5 separate regions of the Homo sapiens genome follow, and all the other regions are linked to region 5. The links are contacts of gene promoters, found by promoter capture Hi-C in human tissues and cell types (Jung and others, 2019). All regions are on one chromosome and are shown on one strand. Each heading gives the region's core, a stretch centred on a gene start or on the middle of the fragment in contact. The rest is flanking DNA. Distances are from core to core; before and after follow the strand shown. Region 1 has its middle 31 kb from the start of WEE1. Region 2 overlaps WEE1 (WEE1 G2 checkpoint kinase). Region 3 overlaps SWAP70 (switching B cell complex subunit SWAP70). Region 4 has its middle 35 kb from the start of SWAP70. Region 5 holds the start of DENND5A (DENN domain containing 5A).

What was found. Contacts are between HindIII fragments. The study calls those that stand out against the background at their distance.
Region 1: a fragment that was not itself captured here is called in contact with the fragment with the promoter of DENND5A in region 5 in 1 of the 25 tissues and cell types used here (liver).
Region 2: a fragment that was not itself captured here is called in contact with the fragment with the promoter of DENND5A in region 5 in 1 of the 25 tissues and cell types used here (lymphoblastoid cells).
Region 3: a fragment that was not itself captured here is called in contact with the fragment with the promoter of DENND5A in region 5 in 1 of the 25 tissues and cell types used here (hippocampus).
Region 4: a contact is called between a fragment that was not itself captured here and the fragment with the promoter of DENND5A in region 5, in 1 of the 25 tissues and cell types used here (pancreas).

What each region holds. Positions count from the first base shown.
Region 1 is chr11:9,602,186-9,607,676 of GRCh38, reverse strand. It overlaps the pseudogene RPL23AP65. Among named protein-coding and RNA genes, the nearest start is that of WEE1, 31 kb to the right of the region's middle. The HindIII fragment of the contact is 6,349 bases long and covers 1-4,576 here.
Region 2 is chr11:9,578,133-9,584,198 of GRCh38, reverse strand. It overlaps WEE1 (WEE1 G2 checkpoint kinase), which reads right to left. Exons shown (of 11, transcript NM_003390.4): 6 at 2,521-2,667. Among named protein-coding and RNA genes, the nearest start is that of WEE1, 7.5 kb to the right of the region's middle. The HindIII fragment of the contact is 3,154 bases long and covers 2,835-5,988 here.
Region 3 is chr11:9,686,236-9,692,388 of GRCh38, reverse strand. The region is part of intron 1 of SWAP70 (switching B cell complex subunit SWAP70); the gene reads right to left. Among named protein-coding and RNA genes, the nearest start is that of SWAP70, 25 kb to the right of the region's middle. The HindIII fragment of the contact is 4,108 bases long and covers 2,749-6,153 here.
Region 4 is chr11:9,626,097-9,631,803 of GRCh38, reverse strand. No RefSeq gene overlaps it. Among named protein-coding and RNA genes, the nearest start is that of SWAP70, 35 kb to the left of the region's middle. RefSeq lists an enhancer at 4,692-4,741. The HindIII fragment of the contact is 3,883 bases long and covers 68-3,950 here.
Region 5 is chr11:9,264,086-9,269,738 of GRCh38, reverse strand. It overlaps DENND5A (DENN domain containing 5A), which reads left to right and starts at 4,389. Exons shown (of 23, transcript NM_015213.4): 1 at 4,389-4,778. The coding sequence starts at 4,670. RefSeq lists enhancers at 4,088-4,157, 5,238-5,357, 5,518-5,653 and silencers at 4,438-4,537, 4,588-4,947. The HindIII fragment of the contact is 15,544 bases long and covers 1-5,653 here.

The DNA of each region.
Region 1 (5,491 bases), core at 153-2,652, 340 kb before region 5:
TAACTGATTTAGGACACGCCCCTGAGGCTGGAAGTGAAGCCAGTCCTACCTAAAGAGCTCCTCCATAGAGAACAGTGTGTGAATGGATGGGAGACCGACTACAGAGTCCATGACAAAGACATATCCACCCAGGGGGTCCAGGAGACCACTGTCTACTTCTATTCTGACTTAGGTCTAGTTATCCCTCTCCTCACCAGGGCCAGGCCCTGCAGAGGCTCACCAAATTTCTGTTGGGAACTTGGTGCATACCAAGCTATAGGCATAGCCTAGGGCCTTGGTCTGCACAGCGTGGAAGCCAAGTCAATCCTGGTCTCTTTTAGTGCCTCTTCAATCAGCCCCATGATGCCCCCAACTCTTCCTGTCATCCTAGGCTGACTCCCAAAATGCAAGTGAATCCGACAGTGGGCCTCTCCTACACTCTCGGGATGATGCTGCCCTCTGTGTTTCCGGCTATTACTACAGCGTCCTGAGCCTGTATCACCTGGAACCTTGGTTCATTTACAGATGGGAGCTCCCTCCACTTTCTGCTTTAACTGAAACCTGGCTGAGGACATGGCATGAGTCCTTGCTAACTTCATCAAGATAGCCTCCCTACCATGTGACAAGGAGGAAGGTGGTCCACATGCCCCGTCCTCACTGCCTCTTTCACATCACCACTGTTTTTGGGCTCCTTTCCTCGGCACTTCCCCTACATTCACTGAGGACTTTGGCCCCTGACTCACAGACTTCCCAGGAGAAATACTGCCATCATCCTGGGTGATTTAGTGTCCCTGCGGATAACACCTTCTATATCTTAATCTTAAAGTCTCTAACCCCCTTGTCTCCAATGACCTTAGCCCTTCTTACTGCTCAGGCCACGCATCCCCTTGGTCACACTCTGAGCCTTGTCATCACCTAAAAGTAATACTCTGACAAAATCCGATTATCCAAACATAGGCACCTGTTCTTACAGCTCCCCCTTCCTTATCTCATTACATCTGTGTCCCCTTAAACTTCCATCTTCTTTTTTTTTTTTATGGTGAAAAGATATATATATGTATATTTAGAATTAGGCATCTGGACTCAGTTTAGATGATCCCAATTTTGTTGACAACATCCAAAGCATCGTAATCAGGAGCCAGTCGAACATATGCCTTCTTCTCTCCATCAGGCCGAATCAGGGTGTTGACCTTGGCCACATCAATGTCATAGAGCTACTTCACAGCCTGTTTAATCTGGTGCTTGTTGGCTTTAACAACCACAATGAACACAAGTGTGTTGTTGTCTTCTATCTTCTTCATGGCAGACTCAGTGGTCAGCGGAAACTTGATGATAGCATAGTGGTCAAGCTTGTTTTTCCTGGGAGTGCTCTTCCGAGGATATTCGGGCTGTCTCCGGAGTCGCAGTGTCTTGGGCCGCCGGAAGGTGGGTGACGTGTGGATCTTTTTTTTGTGGCTGTGGACACCGTTCAACACTGCCTTCTTGGCCTTTAAAGCCTTCGCTTTGGCTTCAGCTTTAGGAGGGGCAGGAGCTTCCTTCTTCGCTTTCGGTGCCATCTTGTGAAAAGGCCTTCCATCTTCTTGACATCACGTAGTGCTGAGCAGTGTAGGGAAAGCTCCATTCCCCTGTAGACTGGCGCCAGGGTCTTCAACCCCTTGACATCTGGGTTCTCTCTCTATTACACCACTGAAGCCACTAATGTTGCCAGGGACTTCCTTGTTGCTAAACTCCAGGGACCCCTTATCTTCTTAGTCCTCTAAGTCCTTATCTTTTTAGTCCTCTTCTCTATGTTGACCACTTCTTCATTCTTGAAATCCTCTTCTCCTGCGGCCATTAAATTGCCGGTCACCCATCATTTTCTTCTAACTCCTCAAATGCGCTTTCTCCTTTTTCTTCACTAATTCCTTTTCTTCCCATTAGCCCCATAAATGTTGCTTTTCCCAGAGCTCTGTCTTGGTTTACTTCTCCTTTCATTTTACAAATTCTTGGATTATCTCACTCATACCCAGGGTTTCAACAACCACGCAAATACCAATGATGTCCAAACCTAAATTTGGGGCCTTGATTGCTCATTGGGTATTGCCACTAGCATGCCCTGCAGGGGCCTTAATTTCAGCATTTCCCAAATTGAACTTTCTATTCTCTACCCTAAACTCTGTGGGACATGACAGACTGTATGGCCGGGCACAGTGGCTCATGCCTATAACGCCAGCACTTTGGGAGGCTGAGGCGGGTGGATCACTTGAGGTCAGGAGTTCAAGACCAGCCTAGCCAACAAGGTTGAAACCCCGTCTCTACTAAAAATACAAAAATTAGCTGGGCGACATGCACCCATAATCCCAGCTACTCGGGAGGCTGAGGCAGGAGAATCGCTTGAACCCGGGAGGTGGAGGTTGCAGTGAGCTGAGATTGTGCCACTGCACTCCAGCCTGGGTGAGAGCAAGACTCAATCTCAAAAAAAAAAAAAAAAAAAAAAAAAAAGACAAAAAAAGACCAACAGATGTCACCTCCCTCCAGACAGAAAAGGAAATTTGAATAGTACTCATCATTACTAATTTAAGATGTATTAAAATGTCCCAAATATCTCTTTTATTCAGCAAGTTGATGAATATAAAAATATTTATAATCTTATTTTCTCCTTCAAGTCCTGAGTGGCTCAACTGTGAATTCTCCTCCCACAGATGATTTCAGGAGGACATGCTGTGCCTTGGCCATTGGCCCACCTTGTATTGGCCATAGACACGAATCATGGAGTAGACAGCAATTGTCTTGTAAGTGGGTGCAGTGTATTTGTTTGCATGTTTAGAAATGTATTTTGCTTTCATGCAGATATTAAGCATACTATAAGAAGAGGCTGGCCAGGTGCAGTGGCTCACACCTGTAATCCCAGCACTTTGGGAGGCCAAGGCAGGTAAATCACATGAGGTCAGGAGTTCCAGACCAGCCTGGACAACATGGTGAAACCCCGTCTCTACTAAAAATACAAAAACTAGCTGGGCGTGGTGGTGGGCGCCTGTAATCCCAGCTACTCAGGAGGCTAAGGCAGGAGAATCGCTTGAACCTGGCAGGCAGAAGTTGCAGTGAGCTGAGATCGTACCACTGCACTCCAGCCTGGGTGACAGAGCGAGACTCTGTCTCAAAAATAAATAAATAAATAAATAAATAAAATTAAAGAATTAGCCAGGTGTGGTGGCAGGTGCCTGTAATCCCAGCTACTCCGCAGGCTGAGGCACGAGAATCACTTGAACCTGGGAGGCGGAGGTTGCAGTGAGCTAAGATCGCGCCACTAAACTCCAGCCTGGGTGACAGAGCCAGACTCCATCTGAACCACAAAAAAAAAAAAAAAGAAAAAAAAAAGAGAGGCTGAGTCATGTGTAAAGCTGAAAACAGATATGAGACCCAGCGTGTCCTCTGAAGACACTCCAGGAGGGTCTTATATCACCTTTTGAACTGTGGGCTCTTACCAGGCAGTTCCAGGTCTTATGTAAATGGACTGAGAATTTTCTAGAAAGTGAGACACCAGCTCTGGTAATGGAGCTTCCAAAACTGGCTAGGGGAAAAGCAGTCCCTATTGACACAGTGCCTCCTGGGTGCCACTGTGATTGAGGGATGCAAGGTAATCTGAGGTCTCAGGATGAACAAAGTTTTGGATAACATTAATTTAACCTACTCAGTTTGTCATCTGTTTTCTTGGTGTGTGGTGCAAGAAACAAAAACCTAACCAACTACTTCAAGAAGGAAAAGCGGGGGTTGAAGCTGGTTGGAAGGATAATTGAGTGTTTCAAGTAGCAACTAAACCAGAAGAATACAAGGGAAACTCTGATTTGGGGCCTTGGTCAGATACGAATGGAACCAAGGATTCAGTTCTCTGGTTTCCTCTGCATGCTGCCTTCAGCTTTCCCCACCATTGCCTGAACTCCTCAGTGTGACTGGGTGCCATTAGCTCCCTGGCCTCATTCACATCCCACCTGCCACTGGCAGAGAGGGACTGGTCTATTCTCACTCTGCTCTGCGAAGGGACTTTGGCCTGGCTTGGCTCAGAGGGAGACCCCCAAACTATTGGTGGTTGGGCTGTGAAGAGATCTGATGAGACCTCTTGATTCAAGTCTGCCACTGGACCAATTAGCTATATGCCATGGGGACAGGGTCATATAGTACAGACCTGGTCATTGGGCACTCACCCTATGTAACAAGGACAATTTCCAGGGTAGAAGGATGTGTAAGAATATTAGAATTTGGGGCCGGGCACGGTGGCTCACGCCTGTAATCTCAGCACTTTAGGAGGCCGAGGCGGGTGGATCGTCTGAGGTCAGGAGTTCAAGACCAGCCTGGCCAACATAGTGAAAACCCGTCTCTACTAAAAAATACAAAAAATTAGCTGGTCGTGGTGGCAGGCGCCTATAATCCCAGCTACTCAGGAAGCTGAGGCAGGAGATTCGCTTGAACCCGGGAGACGGAGGTTGCAGTGAGCTAAGATCGCGCCACTGCCCTCCAGGGCAACAAGAGCGAAACTCTGTCTCAAAATAAAAAAAAAAAGAAAAGAAAAGAAAAGAAAAAGAATATTAGAATTTGGACTGCAATTAGAATATTAGAATTAGAATATGGGCAGCCACCCTAGTGGGGATTACTACATCATTGCTAAGTAATTTTTTTTTTCTTTTTTTCTTGAGACAGAATCTCACTCTATCACCCAGGCTGGAGTGCAGTGGCACGATGTTGGCTCACTGCAACCTTCACCTCCTGGATTCAAGCGATACTCCTGCCTCAGCCTTCCGAGTAGCTGGGATTGCAGGAATACGCCACCACATCCAGCTAATTTCTGTATTTTTAGTAGAAATGGGGTTTCGCCATGTTTCCCAGGCTGGTCTCAAACTCCTACACTCAAGCCATCTCCCTGCCTTGGCCTCCCAAAGTGCTGGGATTACAGGGGTGAGCCATCATGCCCAGCCGCTAAGTGTTTTTCAATTCTTTCCCACAACACAGTCAAATAGCCTTAGTACGTTGCCCATGATAATGAGGTCATGTGCCAAAACACGTAAGAACATGGCTGAGACCTCTCTCCTTGCTCTGTCAGTCCCTCAGGCCCCTGGGCTGTCCTCTGTCTCCTGGCTTCCAAGGCCTCAGCCCCTCTCCCAGGCTGCTTGCAAAAGTGTCTACCCAAACCCTCCCTCTGTGTTTGCTCCCTCTGAGTTGATCTCTTTTCTTATTATGCCCAAAGGGAGAGCCTTGAAGTCTTCTGGAAGGGAAACATCTACAGATGTAAATCTGCACGTGCTCCGTAAGAAGACTGGAGGTTGAGGAAGGGTTTCCTTCTAAGATCTGGTGCAGCCGGGAGTGGTGGCTCACGCCTGTAATCCCAGCACTTTGGGAGGCCAAGGCAGGCGGATCTCTTGAGCCCAGGAGTTCAAGATCAGCCTGGCCACTATGGCAAAACCTCATCTCTACAAAAATACTAAAATTAGCCGGGCACAGTAACTCCGGTAATCCCAGCTATTCAGGAGGCTGAGGCAGG
Region 2 (6,066 bases), core at 3,162-5,661, 310 kb before region 5:
GCACCACTGCATTCTAGCCTGGGCAACAGAGTGAGACTATCTCTAAAAAATAAGGCCGGGAGTGGTGGCTCACACCTGTAATCCCAGCACTTTGGGAGGCCAAGGTGGGCGGATCACTTGAGGTCAGAAGTTCAAGACCAGCATGGCCAGCATGACAAAACCCCATCTCTACTAAAAATACAAAAATTAACTAGGCATGGTGGTGCACGCCTGTAATACCAGCCACTAGGGAGGCTGAGGCAGGAGAATCGCTTGAACCCAGGAGGCAGAGGTTGCAGTGAGCCGAGATCGCACTACTGCACTCCAGCCTGGGCAACAGAGCAAGACCCTGTCTCAAAAGAAAAAAAAAAGTATATATATATATATATATATATATATATATATATATATATATATGTGTGTGTGTGTGTGTGTGTGTGTGTGTGTGTGTGTGTGTGCGCGCGCGTGCACGCACACACACGCACAAATATTTAGTATTAAATTTATGTTACATTTACTGGAGTCATCTATACGTTTTACTTTCTTTATAGGACAACTTATTTTGTGATGGTATTTGTAAATTGGAAGGTTTTTTTTTTTTTTTTTTGAGACAGTCTCGCTCTGTCGCCCAGGCTGGAGTGCAGTGGTGCGATCTCAGCTCACTTCAACTTCCTCCTCCCGGGTTCAAGCAATTCTCCTGCCTCAGCCTCCAGAGTAGCTGGGACTACAGGTGCCTGCCACCACACCCAGCTAATTTTTTGTATTTTAGTAGAGACGAGGTTTCACCGTGTTGTCCAGGCTGGTGGTGAACTCCCAAGCTTAGGCAATCCACCCGCCTCAGCCTCCCAAAGTGCTGGGATTACAGGCGTGAGGCACCACGCCCGGCGAATTTTTTTTTTCTTTTTTTGAGACGGAGTCTCACTTTGTTGCCTAGGATGGAGTGCAATGGTGCAATCTCGGCTCACTGCAACCTCCGCCTCCCGGGTTCAAGCAATTCTTCTGCCTCAGCCTCCCGAGTAACTAGGACTATAGGTGCGCACCACTACACCTGGCTAATTTTTGTAATTTTAGTAGAGACGGGGTTTCATCATATTGGCCAGGCTGGTCTCGAACTCCTGCCTCGTGATCTGCCTGCCTTGGCCTGCCAGAGTGCTGGGATTACAGGCGTCAGCCACTGCACCTGGTCTAAATTTGAAGATTTTTAAACTTCACATCCCTTAATATTTTCAACTTTTATACCTTATAAGGGTCTATTATATTTGTCTAACACTTTATATGAGTACAGCTATTCCTTAAGAATTCACATTTACTGCCTTAAATCCAAATATATTTTTGTCTTTTGAAAATAAAAAACATGCTGGGCACGGTGGCTTACGCCTGTAATCTCAGCACTTTGGGAGGCCATGGTGGGCAGATCACAAGGTCAATAGTTCAAGACCAGCTTAGCCAACATGGTGAAACCCGTCTCTACTAAAAATACAAAAAATTAGCCGGGCATGGTGGTGTATGCCTGTAATCCCAGCTACTCGGGAGGCGGAGGCAGGAGAATCGCTTGAACGTGGGAGGCAGAGGTTACAGAGAGCTGAGACTGTGCCACTGCACTCCAGCCTGGGCAACAGAGCGAGACTCCATCTCAAAAAAAGAAAAAAAGAAAGAAGAAACTTTAGTGACTTGTTAACATACGCATATGAAATTCTAGCATATAACTCATAAAGTTGTACAAAATGACTGAAATTCTCACAAATCAACAGGTTTCCAAAGATTAATAAAACCTCACTAAATTCATCTAGCCTAAGATGCTTAACTTGAATCCATAATCCTTAGTTATAACTTCCAATTTATAGGAAATATAGGAGAAAAAGGAACAAGCTAAATGATACAAGAAGCAACTAGTCAAATCCAGAAAAAGGGATAGCTTGCAAGATAAGTGTATATTATTTTTACAAAGCAGAGGATGGGTTCTGAAAAAGAAAAACTGATATAACCAGATGCAATGCATGATCCTTAAGTAGATACTAATTTGAACAAATCAACTATTAAGGACTTGAGTCAACTGGGGAAATTTTAATATGGTCTGGCCTAGTGGAAGAGTGGGGCTTTAAACACAGATTTTTAGTGCCCTCATTAGTATCCCACCTGTAGTTCCTGTAAGATGCAGCAAAAATTTCTGGCTTTTAATAAAAATGAATTTATCTGGGCATGGTGGCACATGCCTATAGTCCCGGCTACTCGGAAGACTGAGGTGGGATGACTGCTTGAGCACGGGATGGGGAAGTTGCAGTGAGCGGAGATGGTGCCACTGCATTCCGGCCTGGGCCACAGAATGAGACACTGTCTCAAAAAAGTTTATCTCAAATTTTGGGGATTAACAAGGGAAGAGATGAATAGAAATCATAAAACAATATTGGTAAGTGGATCTAAGGCCTTTTAAAACTAACAATGAGAAAACAGAAGATATATATTTTTTCAATGTTGTCATAATGAAGTAATTTATTCTCTATAACCCCAAAGAACACAGGTCAGAAGATCTGCAATACTTACTAGGTTTTATATCCATGTGAACCAAAGACATTGAATGAATATACCTCAAGCCTCGGCCAACTTGCAAAAGGAGATCCTTCAACTCTGCTTCTTTAAAGTAACTCATGATTCTGTAGTTTTCACTTATAGCATCAGCTAAACTTCCACCTAACAAAGATAGAAAATATTAGCATTTTCTTCTTTCTGAAATATTTTCTTTCTTCCATCTTTACCAAATGAGTCTCAACCAACCAATCTCAACCAAGAAAGTGTTATTTTATAGGACCTTCTCCCTTCAACCTGCTTGTGAAATCAAAATTTTATTGTTTTTTCAATAGGTAATACATTTGCATGGGTACAAAATAAAATGTAAAGTCTCTCTCTCAATCATACACCTCAGCAATCCACCTGTTTCTTTCTCAGAGTAAACCAGTATTATCAGGTTGGCTTTTTTTTTGTTTGTTTTTGTTTTTAATTTATAAGAGACAGGGTCTATCTATGTTGCCCAGCTGGAATCCAGTGGCTATTCACAGGCTTGATCCCACTACTTATCAGCATAGGAGTTTTGACTTGTGCTGTTTCCAACTTAGGCCAGTTTACCCCTCTTTAGGCAACCTGGTGGTGCCCCACTCCACAGAGGTCACCATACTGATGCTCAACTTAGATCGGCATAGATCGGCATAGATGCTCAACATAGATCGGCACTACAGCCTAGAATTCCCAAACCCAAATTCAAATTCCCTGCTTCAGACTCCCAAGCAGCTGGGACTACAGGCACTGCCACCACGCCCAGCTCAGGTCTATGTATTCTTTTCAACTTTTTGCATAAATAACAGCATATGTTCATTATCTTAAAGATCACTCTATACCAATATACAAAGACAACCCATTTCTTCTTGTCTTTATAGAATTCCATTGTATAATTGAGTAGAAATGCATTTATTGGCTGGGCACAGTGGCTCACGCCTGTAATCCCAGCACTATGGGAGGCCGAGGCAGGTAGATCACGAGGTCAGGAGTTCGAGACCATGCAGGCCAACATGGCGAAACCCCGTTTCTACTAAAAATACAAAAATTAGCTGGGTGTGGTGGCGTGCACCTGTAATCCCAGCTACTCAGAAGGCAGGAGAATTGCTTGAACCTGGGAGGCGGAGGTTGCAGTGAGCCGATATCGGGCCATTGCACTCCAGCCTGGTGGCAGAGTGAGACTCAGTCCCCCGAAAAAAAAAAAAAAAAAGAAAGAAAGAAAGAAATGCATTTATCAGTCCCTCATTTGATGGACATTTTAAAATTATTTCCAAGCCTTTGCTATTACATACTATGGCCTAATAAATAACCTTGTACATTGGTAATTTCACGTACATTTAGTATATCACCTAGAAGCCAAATTGCTGGGTTAAAGGGTATGCACATTTGTAATATATGGAGATGGTGTGTTTTACACACACACACACACACACACACACACTCTTCTCCACAGAGAAGGCTGTACCAATATATATGCCCATTGTCAATGCATGAGCATACCTGTTTCCCCATACCCTTGACAAGTCTATAAATGTTATAGGTAAAAAGACAGTATTTTAGTATAGTTATAATTTATACTACTCTTACTATGAATGAGACCATAACCTGCTTTTATAGAATTAGTTAAATCAATCAGTTAATTTGTTTATATTTTTTCAAACTTTTAAAGTTTGTATTTCATCTCAAAGGCAATGAGGAATTGTTTTAAATATCTCCTGTTTAAGGCTTAGGAATAAAAAAATCAGAGCTGGGTACTAAAATTAGGAAGGTCAATGATGTATTAGTCAGAAAAGGAGGTCCTATAATTTAAATAAGAAAATAACATAACGTCAAATGTGTTTTTAAAATAAATTATACATCTCGGTATCTTAGTCTTAAGTATGTTCTCCTTACTTGTACAAATCTTGAACTGAGGGAGGGGAAAGAGTGCTCTAGAAGGGAGCAAACCAATAACGCTGTCAGACAAGATAGGCTAAGTCCTAGATCAAATGTGCTAAGAAAGAATATGGCTAATTCTCTTTTTTAGCAGGTCCAGCAACCATAGCTGTGCCCATTTCTTCTCTTATTGCTAGAAGGGCAAGAAAGGTGATGAGAGCAAAACAGGTTCTGACATTTCAGGTTCTCTTTCCCTATCCATCAATATTTTTCTACACTTGTTTATACAGGTTAATTCCAATCTATCACCAAACCAAGATAAAAGGCTTATAATGCAAATGAATAAGATAATAAGGAAATTAAATCACAATAAAGGGAATCAGTTACTCATGTACAAATAAATATCAGAATCCTTTTCCAGTGAAACTGTGGAAAAGATGTGAAGATGAGCCCTATTGGTATATTCAAAGCTTTATGTGGAGAGAGGAACGGTGGACACAGGAAACAAAAGAGATCACAAATGCATCCAGATAGTCGTATTTTCTTTTATCTAAGTAGGACAAATAGCCACACAAAGAGGCAGTCCTGTTTCATGCAGGACTATTTATTTTCTTCAAGAGTTTTATATTGCTTTAAGAGGCCGAGGCAGGTGGATCACGAGGTCAGGGTTCAAGACCAGCCTGGCCAACATGGTGAAACCCCATCTCTACTAAAAATACAAAAATTAGCTGGGAGTGGTGGCGCGCATCTGTAATCCCAGCTACTCAAAAGGCTGAGGCAGGAGAATCGCTTGAACCCTGGAGGCAAAGGTTGCAGTGAGCAGAGATTGCGCCACTGCACTCCAGCCTGGGCGACAGAGCAAGGCTCTGTCTCAAAAATAAATAAATAAATAAATAAATAAATAAATAAATAAATAAAAACTTATTTTCAATAGATTATTTTATAATCTAACATTACAGGACAAGGTTTTTGTAATCTGAGAGGGTAGCAAGACTACTCACTCAGTTCCCTATCTCCCAGGCCCACGTGAGTTTTCTCAGAATCATCTGATTTACACAACCATGTATTGGTAGGTTGCTACATATTTGACATTCCTGGACTACTAATGAACTATTCTGTTAAGAGAATTATTCACATCAAGAAGGTGAGAAAGAGAAAGAAGGAAACTGAAAAGAGATGGTGTCTAACAAATATCAAATGGAGACGACATTGTGGTCAAGTTGTTCTAGGTTAAATGCAATACCTGAAAAATGAAGGTTAAGAAATAGAATAATCCATAAGGTTGTGATAGTTACATAAATATTTTGATGGTATGAATAGAAACATTTCAAGAGCTGTGTGAAAAAAACTAGCAGCAAGGCTGTATACTAGACACTCAAGTTCTTTCAAGTGTGGAGAACTTTATTAAATAATGAGGAATCAGGTTTGAAAAATGGATCTTTTACTTCTGTTTTGTTCACTGTTTTTAAATATGGGGAACCTGAATCCATACCTACACCACTTATTTATTTACAAGTTATGAGATAACTGGTCTTGTTTATTTAAGGAATAATAAGAATCAACAAAAATAAATTTTGTTATCTCCTCTCAAGTGTTCACTAAACTCTAAATTGTCTATATTCACAGAAGATATACAGAAATAGAAACAAACTACAGATATTTTTC
Region 3 (6,153 bases), core at 3,553-6,052, 420 kb before region 5:
GGATATATAAGAAACTAGTAACTGTGAAAGGAAGACAAGTTTGATGAGACCAAGGTTAGAAAAAGACTTCACTGTAGCTCTTCTTTGTATTAAGTTTTTTTAAAAAAAATTAACCTACTCAAAAATGTAGTACATATTTTTAAAATTAAATATATATATATATATATATATTTTAAGTGGCCAGCCTAAGATCACATAGATCAATCTATTTATCTTCATAGCCTATACTTTTTCTTCTACATTAACCTGCTGACTAGAAATGAGGTGTAAAAGGAAGACATATTCCACAGCAATGTACCATGACTAATGGATGAGTGAGCTGTAAGGGCAATAAATGAGTTCAGAAAAGGAGAAATAGTATGTGTTACAGTGACTTCACAGAGGAAGTAAAATGTAACTTATGGCTTACAGGATAGGTAAGGATAGCTTTAGGATAGGAATAGAGGCAAATACAAAAATTTCCAGATAGGGGAATAACATGATAAAAGTAGCTGATTAATCCAAAGCCTTCAGGAAACAAAAAACACCATCTCTCCCATACCCACCCTGTTCTCTACCTTAGGGTTTCACAGATCCTCTAACTAAAGCCCTGGCAGGGGCCTTGGATGTCATATTGTCATCCTCATCTTATAAATGGTGACTACAGACTCACAGATATTAAATTTGTTTTTCTTGACTAAAGTTACTGAGAAGAACTGAGACTAGAACTCGGGTTTTGTAATCTCTGGTCCAGCACTCTCCAGTAATAAGAAACATTATGTCTTCAGTTGTCTAAAGTCAACAATGCTCTTTGTACATATAGATGCTTAGTTTGATTAAGTGATCCCACTGCAGAAGATATAGATTTGAACTCAAGATTTCAGCCTTCGACAATTAAACAGCACTCTTGTTAAACACAGGGATGGCTAAATTCAGTGATAATTTTCTTAACCATCTTTACTTAGGCAAACTGTGAGGAAGGCAGCACAGTATACAAGGCACCTGGAAGAGACCTGCGCTCCAATGTCTCTGCATCCTCACTGTCAAATGAGAGTTGGACTTGTTTGTAAAACCCTTAACTATCAACCCAAACTCATTTCATAATTTAGATAAGAAGTCCAGCTTTGTGACAGCTTTTTCACTGTTAGTAAGGTCTATAAAAGGGAAGTCTTCTTCAAAAAATATAACAACAGGCTGGGCATGGTGGCTTATGCCAATAATCCTAGCACTCTGGGGGGCTGAAACAAGAGGATAGCTAGAGCCCAGAAGTTCAATACCAACCTGGACAACATGGCAAAACCCCATCTCTATAGAAAGTACAAAAGCTAGCTGGATGTGGTGGCACATGCCTGTAGTCCCAGCTACCTGGGAGGCTGAGATGGGAGGCTGAGGTGGGAGGATCACCTAAGCCTAGGGAGGTCGAGGCTGCATTGAGCCATGATCATGCCACTGCACTCCAACCTTGGTGACAGAGGGGGTCCCATCTCAAAAATTAATTAATTAATTATAATATATATGTATATATAAAACAACCAACTGAATAAAGCAACAATGAAACAGTATTTCTAAAAGAGGAAAAAATTGTGTACTATCTTTAAAACTTTTTATCAGCAACCTTTCTTTAAAGCTTAGACAGTATCTCAAGTATTTTTTTCTTTTTTAAGATTTATTTGTATTTTTTAAAAATAGAGATGGGGTCTCACTATGTGTGCCCAGGCGGGTCTCAAACTCCTGGGCTCAAGTGATCCTCCCACCTCAGCCTCCCAAAGTGCCAGGATTATACACATGAGCCACCATGCCCAGTCTCAACAAGGTTTTTTGTTTGTTTGTTTTTTGTTTTGAGGCAGAGTCTCACTCTGTCACCCAGGCTGGAGTGCAATGGCATGATCTCAGCAACGTCTGCCTCCTAAGTTCAAGCAATCTTTCCACCTCAGCCTCCCAAGTAGCGGAATTACAGGCACCTGCCACCACACCCAGCTAATTTTTATATTTTTAGTAGAGACAGAGTTTCACCATGTTGGCCAGACTGGTCTCAAACTCCTGACCTCAAGTGATCCACCCACCTTGGCCTGCGTGCTGGGATTAGAGGCGTGAACGACTACACCTTACCAAGGTTTTCTTTTTATAAAAATAAAATATACAAGAAATAAAATTTTTGATGGCCGGAATATAAACTAGTAAAAAGAAGTAAAAGCTCCTCCATAAACTTATACAGCAATTTATGCTTTTTCAAGTAGACTCATACCATCTATTAATTTGTTTTAGCCTCTCCACAGGGAGAATAGATATTATTGCTATTTTACAGACGAAGAGGCTGAGTCAGAGATTAGGAGATGTGTCCCAAATCACAGAGTTTTACGTGTAGCAAAACTGGGATTAGACCCAAGCCTCCCACTCTGGTGTCCTTTCCATGCTTTGCTACCTTCCCTCTGTTTCTGGAAAAACAGATAGCCCTGCCAATACAAAGATGGACACGCCCGTGAGTTGTTTCTAAATTTTAGTGATGTGCTGGTGCTACCCCAGCCCCACCCCATCAGCTCCACAGGGCCCAACAGAGATGACAGGCACTATTCAGCAGAGCCAAGTTAGTGCCAGTGGCAAGGAAGTCCACATACCTAGAAGTCTGGGACCGTTCTCTCTCTGGGAGCCCTCATCTCCCAGCACCCTATCCCTCTGGGGGAATCTGCACTAAGAGGCACTAACCCCTTCTCCAGATGAGGAAGCTGAAAAGCAGATTAAGACAAAAGAATCAGAAAGAGGACTACAAGTTCTTGATTTGTAAAAGGACTGCCCCAAATCATTCTAATCAGGGTGTTTGCAAGTTTCTTGAAAAAGCTGAATTTATCCCGCTTCAAATGCCTGTTCCTCCAAAGGCCATTCTTTCAGCACCCACATAATTGCTAAGCAGCTTTGCTCTCATTCTGCTGATCTGAAGAATAAACTATTGTTACCACAATAACAGATCCATATCCATGCCAGAAACTCATCTCTCCAGTTCCCTCATAGCTGTCTGCAGTTGCCTCTGCAGGGCCTCTGCTGACAAGATGACTAATTAACTGCATGAGCCCTGCTCGTGTGGTCTGTTCCTGTTCAGTGGTTTGCTTGCCATTTACCCCTTTTGAGCATTTTACTCCAGCCATCATGAAAATGAAATCAAGGATGGTGAACAGTGTTTTAACACGAGTAAGTAGTGTTCACCCTCCTTTCTCCAAAGACGTAGAGATTCTAAAAAGTTATTTAAAACGTGCCACCCAGTAACACACTGTTTCCCTTTACAGGATGTGCGTAATGGGCAAGATTCAACACTGAAAAAAAAGCGGAGTGGGGGCAGATTTCTATTCCAAAAGACTTATCTGAACTGACACAATTATAGACTTATAACTCATAATGGGCAATCTTTTTTTAAAACATTAAAATTCCTGTCTGATTTATAAAATTTCAAGCCAATGGCAAATTACCAGAAAATTCTTCCTAACAATGGACCAGCATGACCAATTTCCTACCACAGCTATGCCCTGCCTTAAAAGCATTGTCTACTCTAAGTCCTGCCCATTCCCGCATGGACTCATTTTCCCCTTCCAAACATCTTTTCATCCTGCTTGTCACTGCTTAAGTCTTGCTTGTTTCCTCTTACCTTTAATCTAACCAGCCTCAAAAATCTCAAAGTCATTGTTCACATTGCTCTCAATCCCTAAGTACAATCAGTTACCATCCTAGACACTTACACCAAATCTTCAAGTACCACTAACATCACGTTATCCCCCTGCCTAAAAATCATCAGAAGACTACAGAAGTAAAAGCTAAGGAAATATGTGAGTTGTATATTTAAGTCACTCCACAGGCCAGCCCACTTCACCTTCCTTATTTCTTCCCACCCTCTGCACCAACCATATAAATCCAGCCAAATAAGCTTACTAACTGCATCCCAGGCAACTTGTACCACATCCCTTTCTCCCCTGGGCCCTTGCTCAATTTACCCCTACCTCCTTTCCTGCCTAACAAAAATGGCATCTCTTTCTGAAGCCTTCACCACCCAAACCAAGATGATCTTTCTTCACTCTGTTTCCCAAGCAGTACCTCTTGTGCTAACTACCACACATGATTTCTCTCTCCTGTAAGACTGTACATTTCTGAAAGGCCCATATCTTATACAACATTGCATGCCCATGGCACCTGGCATGCTGCCCAGAATCCAGAAGACTTTCAATAACTGCTAAGTGAATTCTTTCTAAAAATTCTCTTAACACTAAAGCCGTGATACTTTAATATTAACAATAATCTTAGAAAATATACTATTTCTATCTCCTCACTTCACAGATAAAAAGACTGTGGCCTGAGACTTGGCCTAAGTCACACAATAATTAGCAACAAAGTAGGGACTAGAACTCAAATCTCTTAGCTCTCTGTCCCACAGTGATGCCCTGTGCTGGAAACATTTCTCTTCTGCCTAGTCACATCCTTCAAGATTGGGTCATTCATAAACTCTAGGAAATCTTTATGGATTACCACCCTGCCCCATGAACTCCTATTCAGCATTTAACTATGTTCTGTTTCAGATACTAATGGTATCTCAAATATCTAACTTATCAAATATCCTCCCTTATTGAAGGGAGGAAATAAATATTTTCCTTCTGCATCCTTCAGTGACTAGCATAGGGCTAAGCGAAGATTCAGTAAGAGCAGAACACTTACAGACAGATTAAGGAAAAGTAACTCAAAGTCATCTGTTGGAATGCTGTCCACAGAATATATGCCACTGATGTCATACAGCATGGATGGCACTGGATTACACTCTAACTGAACCACCTTTTTAAAGTTATTTTGGATAACTTACCAACTTACCCCTCTTCAGAAACTAAACAGAAAATACTGGTAAATTTGACCACAGAAAAATGCTTATATTTTCTTTTAAAAAGAAAGAAACCATAAAAAAACAAAAAAGGCAAATAGCTCCAATATTCAAATCATTCTTGTGGACACGAATAGAAAATTCACAAAAGAAACTAATCACTAATAAATAGAGGATACCTTTCAAGTTCAGGTGGAACTCCTGGGACCTTTAACTTTTGGATTGTATGGCTAAGGCATAATGTTGTTTGTTGTGTATTATATTTGGTATAACTTTTCTTACTGTTTCTCTACTAAGAATGCCTTTAAATATGGTTATTGTGATACTTTTTTACAAGGAAACTATATTTGAGCAGTTCCAAATTGTACATACTGTATGAACCTTGTCCTCTGAATGGGTTCCTTATTTCTACACGGAATTGCGTAGCTTGCAGTATCATGTAACTAAAGATTAAACCTCACCTTTTACTTCAAAAATAGGCAAATAAAATATAGGAAAAGATGCTTAATCTTGCTAGTAATCAAAAGAATGCACATTAAAAGAGCTACTACTTTTTGCCTAAGTAATACCTGGTGTTTGAGGAGATATAAGGGAGTAAAGACTACCAATATCCAACACTGCAGAAGGTACAGAGCAGGTTTTTCTCAACTTCAGTACTACTGACATTTTTGGCTGAATAATTATTTGTTTGGGGGACAGGGCAGGTAACCTACGCATTGTACAATGTATAGCAGTATCCTGGGTTAAAAACATTTAAAACATCTCAAATACCTGTGAATAGGAAATGGTTAAATAAAGCATGATGCATCAACACAATGAAAGAGTTCACAGTCATTATAAAGGATGGTGTCTGTATCTATATGCATTTATACAGAAAGATGACCCTAACACAATGCTTAAGAAGAGACTACAGGCCAGGCACAGTGGCTCTCACCTGTAATCCCAGCACTGAGGGAGGCCAAGGGAGGAGGATCACTTGAGCCCAGGAGTTCAAGACCAGCCTGGGCAACAAAGTAAGACCCTATCTCTACAAAAAATACAAAAATTAGCTGTGAGCCTGTGGTCCCAGCTACTAGGGAGGCTAAGGTAGGAGAATCAAATGAGCCCAGGAGGTTGAGGCTGCAGTGAGTCGTGATGGTGCCGCTGTACTCCAGCTCTGGCAACTGAGCGAGAACCTGTCTCACAAAAATAAATAAATAAATAAATAAATAAATAAGAAAATAAAAGAGGATACGAAAGGATACAGAATATGACCCTATTTATACAAAAGGACATATATGTCTGTGTATTTACATATGTGTATATGCATGTGTGTACATGATGGG
Region 4 (5,707 bases), core at 760-3,259, 360 kb before region 5:
AACAACAGAAAGCAACAACAAACAGAAAAAGAAAAGAAAAATACCAACAGTTAAAAAGAAAAAAAAGACAAAGCTGTAGACAGATCATAAAAAGGAAATACAGGCCGGGTGCAGTGGCTCATGCCTGTAATCCCAGCACTTTGGGAGGCTGAGGCGGGTGAATCACCTGAGATCAGGAGTTCAAGACCAGCCTGGCCAACATGGCGAAACCTCGTCTCTACTAAAAATACAAAAATTAGTCGGGTGTGGTGGCACGTGCCTGTAATCCCAGCTACTCGGGAGGCTGAGGAAGGGGAATTGCTTAAACCCAGGAGGCAAAGGTTGCAGTAAGCTGAGATCATGCCACTGCACCCCAGCTTGGGCAACAAAGTGAGATTCTGTCTCAAAGAAAAAAAAAAAAAGGAAATACAACTGGATCCTAAAAACAAAAAATATAGTTACCCTAAGACATGTCTTATCCCCAGTCAGAACATCAAGCTCATGGTTCTGCTTTTCAATTCTGACTCCAACCCTGACAAGGCCAAACAAGTTGAACTGATGAGAGACTATTGCATTAAGTATCCTAAAGCTGACATGCAGATTTTGCCTGCGTCTGAAGAGTTTTCAAGAGCTCCAGCCCTGGAAGTAGGATCTTCCCAGTTTAATAATGAATCTTTGCTCTTCTCCGGTGATGTCCTCGTGTTTACTACAGAATTCCTTTAGTGATGTCAAGCAAATACAGTTCTGCACCAACAAATACCTTTTCCAATCATCTTCAGCTAGTGTGACCCAAAGATTGTTTATAATGGGAAAGTTCCAAAAACAAAAACAAAACAACTTTTTTTTTTCCAAGACAGAGTCTCACTTTTGTCGCCCAGGCTGGAGTGTAGTGGCGTGATCTCAGCTCGCTGCAACCTCCATCTGCCGGGTTTAAGCGATTCTCCTGCCTCAGCCTCCAGAGTAGCTGGGATTACAGGTGTGCACCACCACACCCAGCTAATTTTTGTATTTTTAGTAGAGACAGGGTTTCACCATCTTGGCCAGGCTGGTCTCGAACTCCTGACTTCGTGATCTGCCTTCCTCAGCCTCCCAAAATGCTGGGACTACAGGTGTGAGCCACCATGCCAAGCCAAAAACAATTGTTTTTTTTTTTTTTTTGAGATGGAGTTTCACTCTGTCTCCCAGGCTGGAGTGCAATGGTGCGATCTCGGCTTACTGCAACCTCTGCCTCCCGGGTTCAAGCAATTCTCCTGCCTCAGCCTCCCAAGTAGCTGGGATTACAGGTGCCCGCCAGCATGTCTGGCTAATTTTTTGTATTTTTAGTAGAAACAGGGTTTTGCCATGTTGGCCAGGCTGGTCTTGAACTCCTGACCTCAGGTGATCTACCCACCTCGGCCTCCCAAAGTGCTGGGATTAGAGGCGTGAGCCACCGCACTCAGCAAGGTCTGCCATTTCTTGAGTACCTGTTACTTATTATTATTCATGTCTATCAGGAGTATGTTTAGTATGTTTTATTTGCAGTAAATCGATCTCCAACGATTTCCTTTGAAAATGCTTTTTCCCCTCCTTAACTTTTACATTGCTTCCGTTTTACTAAATATTAAGTGTTCTTTGACAATTTTGGTGCTCACGTCTTTTGGAAACAAAAGTGAAGTGAATCTGTCATTATACCAGAAAGTTTGCTTGTTGTCTCAGATCAAATGTGCCTGAATAAATTTTTTTTTCATTTAGATTTCAAACAGTGATAGACTTGCATTTGAATATACATCATTGGAGATCTGCTTATTTGTAAATAGCCTGTTGCTCATTTGGAAAAATAAACCAGTGAACAATATATTCCTATTGTACTTTTCAGAACCATTTTGTGTCATTATTCCTGTTGTAGCTGAACAATTGTATTACACTTGGAGAGTAAAAGACTTGAACACAAAAAAAAATAATAATGGCTCCCAATTTATAAATGATATTACCATGTGTTGGGAAAGACTGAAAGAGGAGGAAGTTTGGAGGAAGAAATCAAGAGTTTTATTTTGAACATGTTAAGTTTAAGATATTTATTAAACATGCAACTGGAATTGTGAAGTTTGTATGTAGACTGAGTCTGGAACTCAGATAGGATATTTAATCTGGAGATAAAAATTTGGGAGTTATCAGAATATAAACAGTATTTAAAACTATGGGATTGAGGATCTCGTCAAGGGAAGGGTATAGATAGAGGTGTAGAATTTCCATATTAGTTTTTCAGTTTTTTAATTTTTTATTTTTAAAAGCTTTTTGGAGAGACAGGGCCTCACTATGTTGCCTATTCTGCTCTTGAACTCCTGGCCTCAAGTGATCCTCCCGCCTTGGCCTCTAGAGGTGCTGGGATTAGAAGTGTGAGCCACTGCGCTGGCCAGAACTTCTACATGTGGAATTCAAGGAGAGGAGGAGGAGCTGTAAAGGACAACGAGAATGAGTTTCAGGAGAGTGTGCGGTCAAGCAGAGAGTGACGTTTTAAGAACAGTGTGGTCAGTTATATCAAAAGCTGACAATACACCAAGTAAGATTAAGACAAAGAAACGTCCATTGGATCTGGCATCCTAAAGATCACCAGTGACCTTAACCGTGGTGGTTTCTGTAGGGGGGTAGGGGACAGAAACCAAGTATGAGGTGGTTGAAGTCAACACAAGGAAGTGAGCTTGTCTCCAAAACCCCCTTTGCTTCAAACACCCAGGCATGATATTTAAAATATAAAAATGATTTTTTCCAAAAAGACACAGTTGCACTCTTATATATCTCCATGATATGTAATCCAAGATATATATATATCTTATGTATCTCCATGAACCAGAAATAGAATGGAAACACGTTAAGCTAAGTATTTCCTTAGGCTGAAGTCTCAAGCTTGTGGGGCTCTAAGTCTGGAAGTTGGACACTAGCAGCTGGATGGGGGTTTAGCAGGGGAGTAGGGGGCTAAAGCACTCCCCACAAGGTGGGAGACGGAGGCTTCCAGCTTGATACCAGAGGCTGAAGTGAGCTCCATCGCTTGTGAAAAGAAGATGAAGATAATAGCAGTTAACCTATGGACTGAGACTTTATTAGAGACTAGAGAGATGAGGAGCAAAGAGAACACCTCATTACCAGAAATTGTCAAGCTGTCTGCTGGACCCATAACTAATATCTAGGGATATTAGTTATCCCTAATATGCCACATCCCTAATATCTAGGGATAGAAAAATCATAATCCTAAGCTTTGACTCTAGTTTGAGGCCCAGAGGGCCAGCTGGAGCCCTCCTGGAAAGGAATGAGGGGAGAGTAAGAGAGAGAGAAATCAAACAAAAATGAATACTTTCTCACGCTAAAAGACCTTTCAACCATAATTACAAAACAGAAAGATAGCCTTTGAAATTAACAATCAGACCAGAAATTTTCTCAAATTTCCTTTGGATTTTAAAAATGTTCAGAGATGAATGCATAACTTTCATTTCAAAATGAAATTATTCAGCAAAAATAGGCAGAAATGAAACAGTATGAGAGAGAACCAACTGGAAATCCTTGAAATAAAAAAAATACACTAATTGAAATTTTAAAGGTCATAAGTGGGAGAAACTCTAGATTGAACACACTCAAACAGTAAATTAGGGAATTGGAAGACAAAACTGAGGACTCATTCAGAATATAGCACAAGATAAACAAAAAACAGCAACTAAAAACATGGAGAACAGATTACAAGATTCAAATATTTATAAAATAATAAGTGTTCCAGAGAAAGATAATTAGATGGAAAAAGCAATATTTGATGAGAAAACTACTGAGTTTTTTCCCCCAGAATTGAAGAAAATGCCCTATAAATGGAAGAAATTTACACCCAGCCAAATTACCATTCAAGAGTGTTGGGGGTAGGAAAAAAAAGATTCCGCATATAAAAACTAAAAGATTCTTAACACTTACAGGCACCTTATGAAATAAACGACATATATATATCACTCACACACATGCGCGCACACACACACACACACACACACACACACACACGTTTTTTGAGACAGGGTCTTTCTCTGCCTCCCAGGCTGGAGTGCAATGGTGTGATCTCAACTCACTGCGACCTCCGCCTCTTGGGCTCAAGCGATTCTCATGCTTCAGCCTCCCAAGTAGCTGGGATTATAGGCGGGTGCCACTGCCGCCGGCTAATTTTTGTGTTTTTAGTAGAGATAGGTTTCACCATGTTGGCCAGGTTTCCCAACATATATTTAAAGTCTGGGCGCAGTGGCTCATGTCTGTAATCCCAGCACTTTGGGTGGCTGAAGCAGGAGGATCGTTTGAACCCAAGAGTTCGAGATCAGCCTGGGCAACATAATGAGATCCGCCCCCCCCCCCCCCAATCTCTACAAAAAATATCAAAATCAGCCGGGCATGGTGGTATATGCCTGTGGTTAAAAAAACAAACAAACAAAACTGAAAGATACTCTCAAAATGTAAGAGAGGACCTATTACTCCTTTGCTCAGAATCCTCTAGTGCTTCTCATGTGACTCCGAGTAAATGCTAAAATCTTTACAACAGCCTACAAGGTCCCAGGGGGTGGCAAACTAAGGCCGGCCAGCAAAATCCTTGTATGGCAAGAGGGAAGAGAGGGCTTTCACACTTTTTTCAAAAAGAGAAAGAATATGCGATACAGACCACATGTGGCTTGCAAAGCTAAAAATACTTACTATCTAGCACTTTACAGAAAAGCTTGCTGACCTCTGCCCCCAACAACTCGGCCCCTTTGTGATGCAGGGTTCATCCCCTAGCCTGACTCCTTCTTTCTGCTCACAGAGCTCCAGGCAGACTGGCCTCCTTCTCATTCCTTGCAGTTTCTTGCAGTTTTTCCAACCAGCCAGGCACGCTTCCGCCCGGAAATCATGGAGGACAGGAAAAGCATGAGGAAAAGGAGGACAGGAAAGGCATGAGGGGGCTGTTCAATAGTGATAAAGTCGTGGGTCAATGTCTTGAAATGTAATAAGGTCAAATAATTGTAGCACGGTGATTCATTTTCTATTGCTGCCAGTTTCTCGCAGTTATTCCAAAGAGCAGGCACGCTTCTGCCCTGCCATTTTCTGCCATTTTCTCTGCTGGGAATGAATGTTCTCCCCGCAGATAGCTGCACAGCTAATTCCTTCTCCCTTGGGTCCTCACTTAAAAGCACCTTCTCAATGAAGCCTTACCTCACCATGCTAATTAAGGATCATTATCCCTCTGCCTACACTCCTAACTCACTCTGCTTTCTTTGTTTCATAGCACATATCACTAACATACATGTTTTAATTTTTATTGCTGTTGTTTTTTTTTCTATATATTTCCTACTAGAATATAAACTGTTCCTGGTGCATAGTGGCTGCTCAATATGTATTTCTTGAATGCCCGTATGGGTCATGAAAGCCATCACATCCCTCTGTTTTCTATACGGCACTTGTCACTAGCTGTAAATGCCGTATTTAGGGATTTTGTCCACAAACTTCATGAAAGGGGGGATCACAGGATGACAGTCAACATATATCAAGTATCCAGTGTAATATTGATTCAATGACTACACATTCCATACATCTTTCAAAAGAGTGAATGGGAAGGGAGGAGATAGACACACAGTGAGCCAACAACTTTTTCAATAATGTTTGCTGTGAATGGGGGCAAAGAAATTGGATGGTGGCTGGAAGAGGACATGGGGCCAAGAAGGTGCTGAAGATGGGGATCCAGCAAGTAATTCCGATG
Region 5 (5,653 bases), core at 3,140-5,639:
GAATTGCAAGCCAACTCCACCACACCTTCTACCATCTTCCACCAATCCTCCCCACCCTAACCCTCTCCAGCCACCCTGGCTTCCTTATTGCTCCATGAACACTCCAGGCACACTCTGCCGCACACCCTCTCCTGGAGTTATGTTCCCTCAGATGTCCACTTGCTCTCTCATGTTCCTCATGCTAAAATGGGTGTCCCAGATTGCCACTTATTAAAAGTATATTATGTCCCAGATTTTAAAAATTCCTTTTTCCATTAATTTATGAATCTTCAGTGCAATTCTGTGAGGGGTCAGAATGACTCTTCTCATTTCAGAGTGTTTAACTGATGTACCCCAGCTTACACAGCTAGTAAGAGTGGGAGTGGATTTAAACATTAAATCTTCACGCCTGTAATCACAGCACTTTGGGAAGTCAAGGTGGGCAGATCACCTGAGGTCAGGAGTTCGAGACCAGCCTGGGCAACATGGCGAAACCCCGTCTCTACTAAAAAAAAAATTAGCCCGGCATGGTGGCGCAGGCCTGTAGTTCCAGCTACTCAGGAGGCTGAGGCAGGAAAATAGCTTGAACTCGGGAGGCAGAGGTTGCAGTGAGCTGAGGTTGTGCCACTGCTCTCCAGCCTGGGTGACAGAGCGAGGCTCTGTCTCAAACAAACAAAAAAACATTAAATCTTGGCTTGGCGCAGTGGCTCACGCCTGTAATCTCAGCACTTTGGGAGGCCGAGGCGGGCAGATCACGAGGTCAAGAGGTTGAGACCATCCTGGCTAACAGGGCGAAACCCCGTCTCTATTAAAAATACAACAAAATTAGCCACTACAGGTGGCGGGCACCTGTAGTCCCTGATACTCGGGAGGCTGAGGCTGAGAATGGTGTGAACCTGGGAGGCGGACCTTGCAGTGAGCAGAGATCACCACTGCACTCCAGCCTGGGCGACAGAGCGAGAATTCATCTCAAAAAACAAACAAACAAAAATACAAAAAAAAAAAAAAATTAGCCAGGCATGGTGCGCGCGCCTGTAGTCCCAGCTACTTGGGAGGCTGAGGCAGGAGAATCGTTTGAACCTGGGAGGCGGAGGTTGCAGTGAGCCGAGATGGCGCCACTGCACTCTAGCCTGGGTGACAGAGCGAGACTCTCTCAGAAAAAAAAAAAAAAAAAAAAAGAAAAAATCTTAAGAGCATCCCTTTCTATATTTTCTGACTCTCTAAGAAGCAATCACTCTGCCAAACTTATTTCCTACCGGGAAGGAGATCACTTCACAGTTGAGTATTCTGGGCTTCTGAGCAGTTACATTTCCCAGGGCAAATTAATACAGTTATGCATTCGTTTTTAACTTGTGTTTTACGAGTTGAGTTAATATGAGAGGTCGTCTAGCACCAGATCACCCTGGACACCTTGGATAAAAAGTTTCTGGACTTTTCAGTTGAGGACGTTTATTCCTTTCTCAAATTTCTTTTTCCACATCACCCCTAGAGTGATCATTCTCAGATTTGGGTCAGATATCACTCCTTGGCTTGAATTCCTTTACTTTACCTCACTCATCCTCAACTCATATATCTTATAGGATAAATTATTTCTAAAAAATACTATTTATTTATTTATTTATGACAGGGGTCACATTATGTTCTCCACTCTGGTCTCAAACTCCTGGGTTCAAGCAGTCCTCCTGCCTCAGCTGCCCAAAGTGTTGGGATTACCAGCGTGAGTGTGAACCACGACGCCTGGCCGAGGATAAATTCTTTAGCCTGGTATTTGAATCCATGCCTCCTTCCTCTGTTCTCCTTCTTCCTCCCCTGCCCTGGTTTCATTCCCTTTAAACTCTCCATCTCCCATCTTAATGTTAATGAATTACTTGTTGATGCCTGAACATACCCTTTTATCTGTTGCTCCCTGTTGTTACACATACTGAGTTAAACATCTTTCCCTGCCCCTTTTTACCTGAGAAACTTCCTGTTGATCCTCTGGAACTCAGGTCAGAGTATATACCTCCTTCTGGAAACCTTCCCTGACCATTCCCCAATCTGGAAAGATGTCCTCCTTCTGTGCTCTGTAACTTTCTTTTTTTCTTTTTTTTTTTTCAGGGTGTCTCTGTTGCCAGGCTGGAGTGCAGTGGCGCCATCTTGGCTCACTGCAACCTCCACCTCCCGAGTTTAAGCAATTCTCCTGCCTTATCCTCCTGAGTAGCTGGGATTACAGGCACCACCATACCCAGCTAATTTTTATAATTTTAGTACAGATGGGGTTTCACCATGTTGGCCAGGATGGTCTTGATCTCCTGACCTCGTGATCTGCCTGCCTTGGCCACCTAAAGTGCTGGGATTACAGGTGTCAGCCACCACGCCTGGCATATTTATTTATTTATTTATTTATTTATTTAGAGGTAGAGCCTCATTCTGTTGCCCAGGCTAGAGTGCAGTGGCACGATCTCGGCTTACTGCAACCTCTGCCTCTTGAGTTGAAGCGATTCTCCTGCCTCAGCCTCCTGAGGAGCTGGGACTAAAGTTGCCTGCCACCACACCCTGCTAATTTTATATTTTTGGTAGAGATGGGATTTCACCATATTGGTCAGGCTGGTCTTGAACTTCTGACCTTAAGCGATCCGCCAGCCTTGGCCTCCCCAAGTTCTGGGATTACAGGTGTGAGCCACCACGCCCAGCCTCTGTGACTGTTTAACTCACTAATCCCCCTCTACTGTCTCTGTGTCCCCAGCATGCAGGATACGGGTGGAGCATCACCATGAATGGGCGTTTTGAAGCAACCTTCTCCTCCCCACTTTTCTCCCCCTAGTTCAGGCAGGTTAGATACAGGGAGGAACAGGTGCTATGGCTCCGAGAGACAATGGCTATAACCTCTAGGTAAACCTCCCCAAGGGAAACAATATTTGAGAGAAGTACCCAGGAGAACCTAGGAGAGAGCCTAGGCTCAGCCTTTGGGGAAGCCAGCTGCCTTCTACAGCTCTTAGTGGCAGCCTCCCAGAACAAACCGTAAGAGTACTTCCTTCTGGAACAATAATAATAATCCAGGCTGGGGGCTCATTGGCTCATGCCTGTAATCCCAGCACTTTAGGAGGCAGAGGAGGGCGGATCACCTGAGGTCAGGAGTTCGAGACCAGCCTGACCAACACGGTGAATCCCTGTCTCTACTGAATACAAAAAATTAGCCGAGTGTGGTGGTGCGCGCCTGTAATCCTAGCTACTTGGGTGGCTGAGGCAGGAGAATCACTTGAACCTGGGAGGCAGAGGTGCAGTGAGCCGAGATTACGCCATTGCACTCCAGCCTGGGCAACAAGACAGAACTCCGTCTTGAAAAAAAAAATCTGTAATATTTACTGAGTGATTTCCATGTTCCAGGCAGTATTCTCATTGTTTTACCTGTACTTGCATTTACCTTATGTAATTGTCTCAAAAACCATGACGCCAGGCACTTAGAGATTAACTTGCTCAAGGTCAAAAGTAAATGATCGTCAGGATTGAAATCCGAGCATTTTTTTCTAGAGCCCATGCTAGTGACCACTATACCTGTGTTGCCTTTCTGGCCTCTGATCTCCAGTTTCCAACAAAGACACATCTGCCTAGCTTCTATGGGAAAGGAAATCGGAGGGTCCTAGGACAAGGACCAATAGGTAAGTTTCCCTTCGCCTCCTCCCTATCCTCTTACAGGAAAACAGGTTTAGGGGTGGATCTGAGAGTTTTCACAGAGTGAAGAGGAAGAGGAGCTCCCAAATGGCAGGCGCCTCTGGAGGCTTCCAGAGAAAAAAGGAGAGAGCGTGGGAAAAGGGCAGGCTGGGAGGTGGGAGCGGCGAGGAACGGGGAGCTGACCACAAGCCCAGGATTCCAGACCAGGCTTATGTCTCTTAGACTCAGCGTAACCTTGGATAAGTCCTTGCTTCTTTCTGAGACTCAGTTTCCCCGTCTGTAAAATAAGGGTAAATATAAAACCGGCTCATCCGCCCCTGCCAAAAGAGAGGACAGGGAGAAGGCCCTGTCTGGGGTCTAGGCTGACACGCTGCAGCTAGGATTAGGTGAGCTTCCGAGCTCAGTCGTGAGACCCCATCCTCATGGCAAGGCCGCGCTAAGATCTCTGGACCTCTGCTTGCTGGGTGGGTGGTTGGGGGCAGAGCATGGGCCAAATGCCCGGCTCTGCAGGCTGCGCCCACTCTTCTCGCACCTCCTCAGCCCTCCCTAAAGGAGTCTCAATCCCGGGGGAGTGGCAGTTGCGGGCGACCAAGCAGTCACCGGCTGCGCTGCGGCGACCTCCCGGGAAGCTGCGGCCGGCGGGGTCCGAAGAGCATCACGTCATCCTTTCCCCCAGGAGCCCGCCCCCTCCCAGACGGCGCCTGCGCAGGCGCGGTAGGAGGAGGGTCACGGTGGGGGCTGTCCACGCGCTCTCCGCCCTTCTCCAGGCTCGCTCGGGCCGCGGCGCTCTCGGCTAGCTGCAGCGGCGGCGGCGCGGAGGGGAAGGCATCCAGGATGCGGTGCGGGGCGGCCCGGTGCCCCCCCGCCCCGTCACGGCAGCCGCGGCGGCCGAGGGGACCGGGCCAGGGCCGGGGGCGGCGGCCCGAGCCGCGGTAGCGGCGGCGGCGGGAGGGGCGGCCTGAGGGCGGACGGGCGGGCGCCCGGGTTGCGGGGGCTCGGTGCCGCTCCGCACTGCCCGGCCGGTCTCGGCCCCGGCGCCATGAGTGGCGGCGGCGGCGGAGGGGGCTCGGCGCCCAGTCGCTTCGCCGACTACTTTGTCATCTGCGGACTGGACACGGAGACCGGGCTGGAGCCGGACGAGCTGTCGGGTGAGTGCGCGCCGAGCCCGGGGCGCTTTCCCGCGCCCGCTGTCGTCGGGGACCCCAGAAGAAACCTTCCTTCAGCCCCGCTTTGTCCCGGGAGCCGGGCGAGTGTCGGCCGGGAGGACCAGGGCGGGCGCGGGCGAAGGGGGCTTTGGACTGGAGGGGGGAAACGGATGAGGGGCTCTGAGCCATGAGGGGTCCAAACCTACGGCCCGCTGCGCAGTGGCCACGTCTTCGGCGACCAGAAAGAGGGAGGGTTGTGTGTTCTCAGTTTGGTGTAGGTTGAGTGACTTCGTTTAAAATAAAGGAAAGCTTGTCCTCTGGCACCCATTAGGGAGGGAAGGCGTCCCACGTCCTAGTGAAAGTAAGTTCCACCCAGACTTAAAAAAAAGGAAAACAAAAACTTGGTGAGTTTATCTGGCCACTTCCCAAGAAGCTTGTGATACTAGTTCCTCAAAACCGTTATACCCCAGCCCTGGGCTGGGCCCCCTGAGTCAGATTGCAGCTCTGCGCGTCTGGATGGGATATGAAGTAATAAAGTGAACTTGGGCGGCACCAAGAAGAGTAGGAACTCCCTTAGCCTTGGAAAGGGCTTGTATCCCGGGGCCATGCCTTTTTTGAAAAGTAATTTATGTCCTTTATGAGGACAGAGGCGTTTGTGAATAAAAGGGTAGCAGCATTGTAGTTGGAGAGGCTTGGTGTGTTCTGATGCGTTTCAAGTCATATTTGAAAGGGAAAGTGATGAGGGGAGTCAAAGATGGGGCCCTGACCAGATTTGGCACTCACTGCAGAAGGCCGTGAAAATTATACAGTCCCCGTGAATTTTCCACTGCACTGTCATTGGAGTCTTTGAATTGTAACAGTTTTGAAAATAAGTTTTT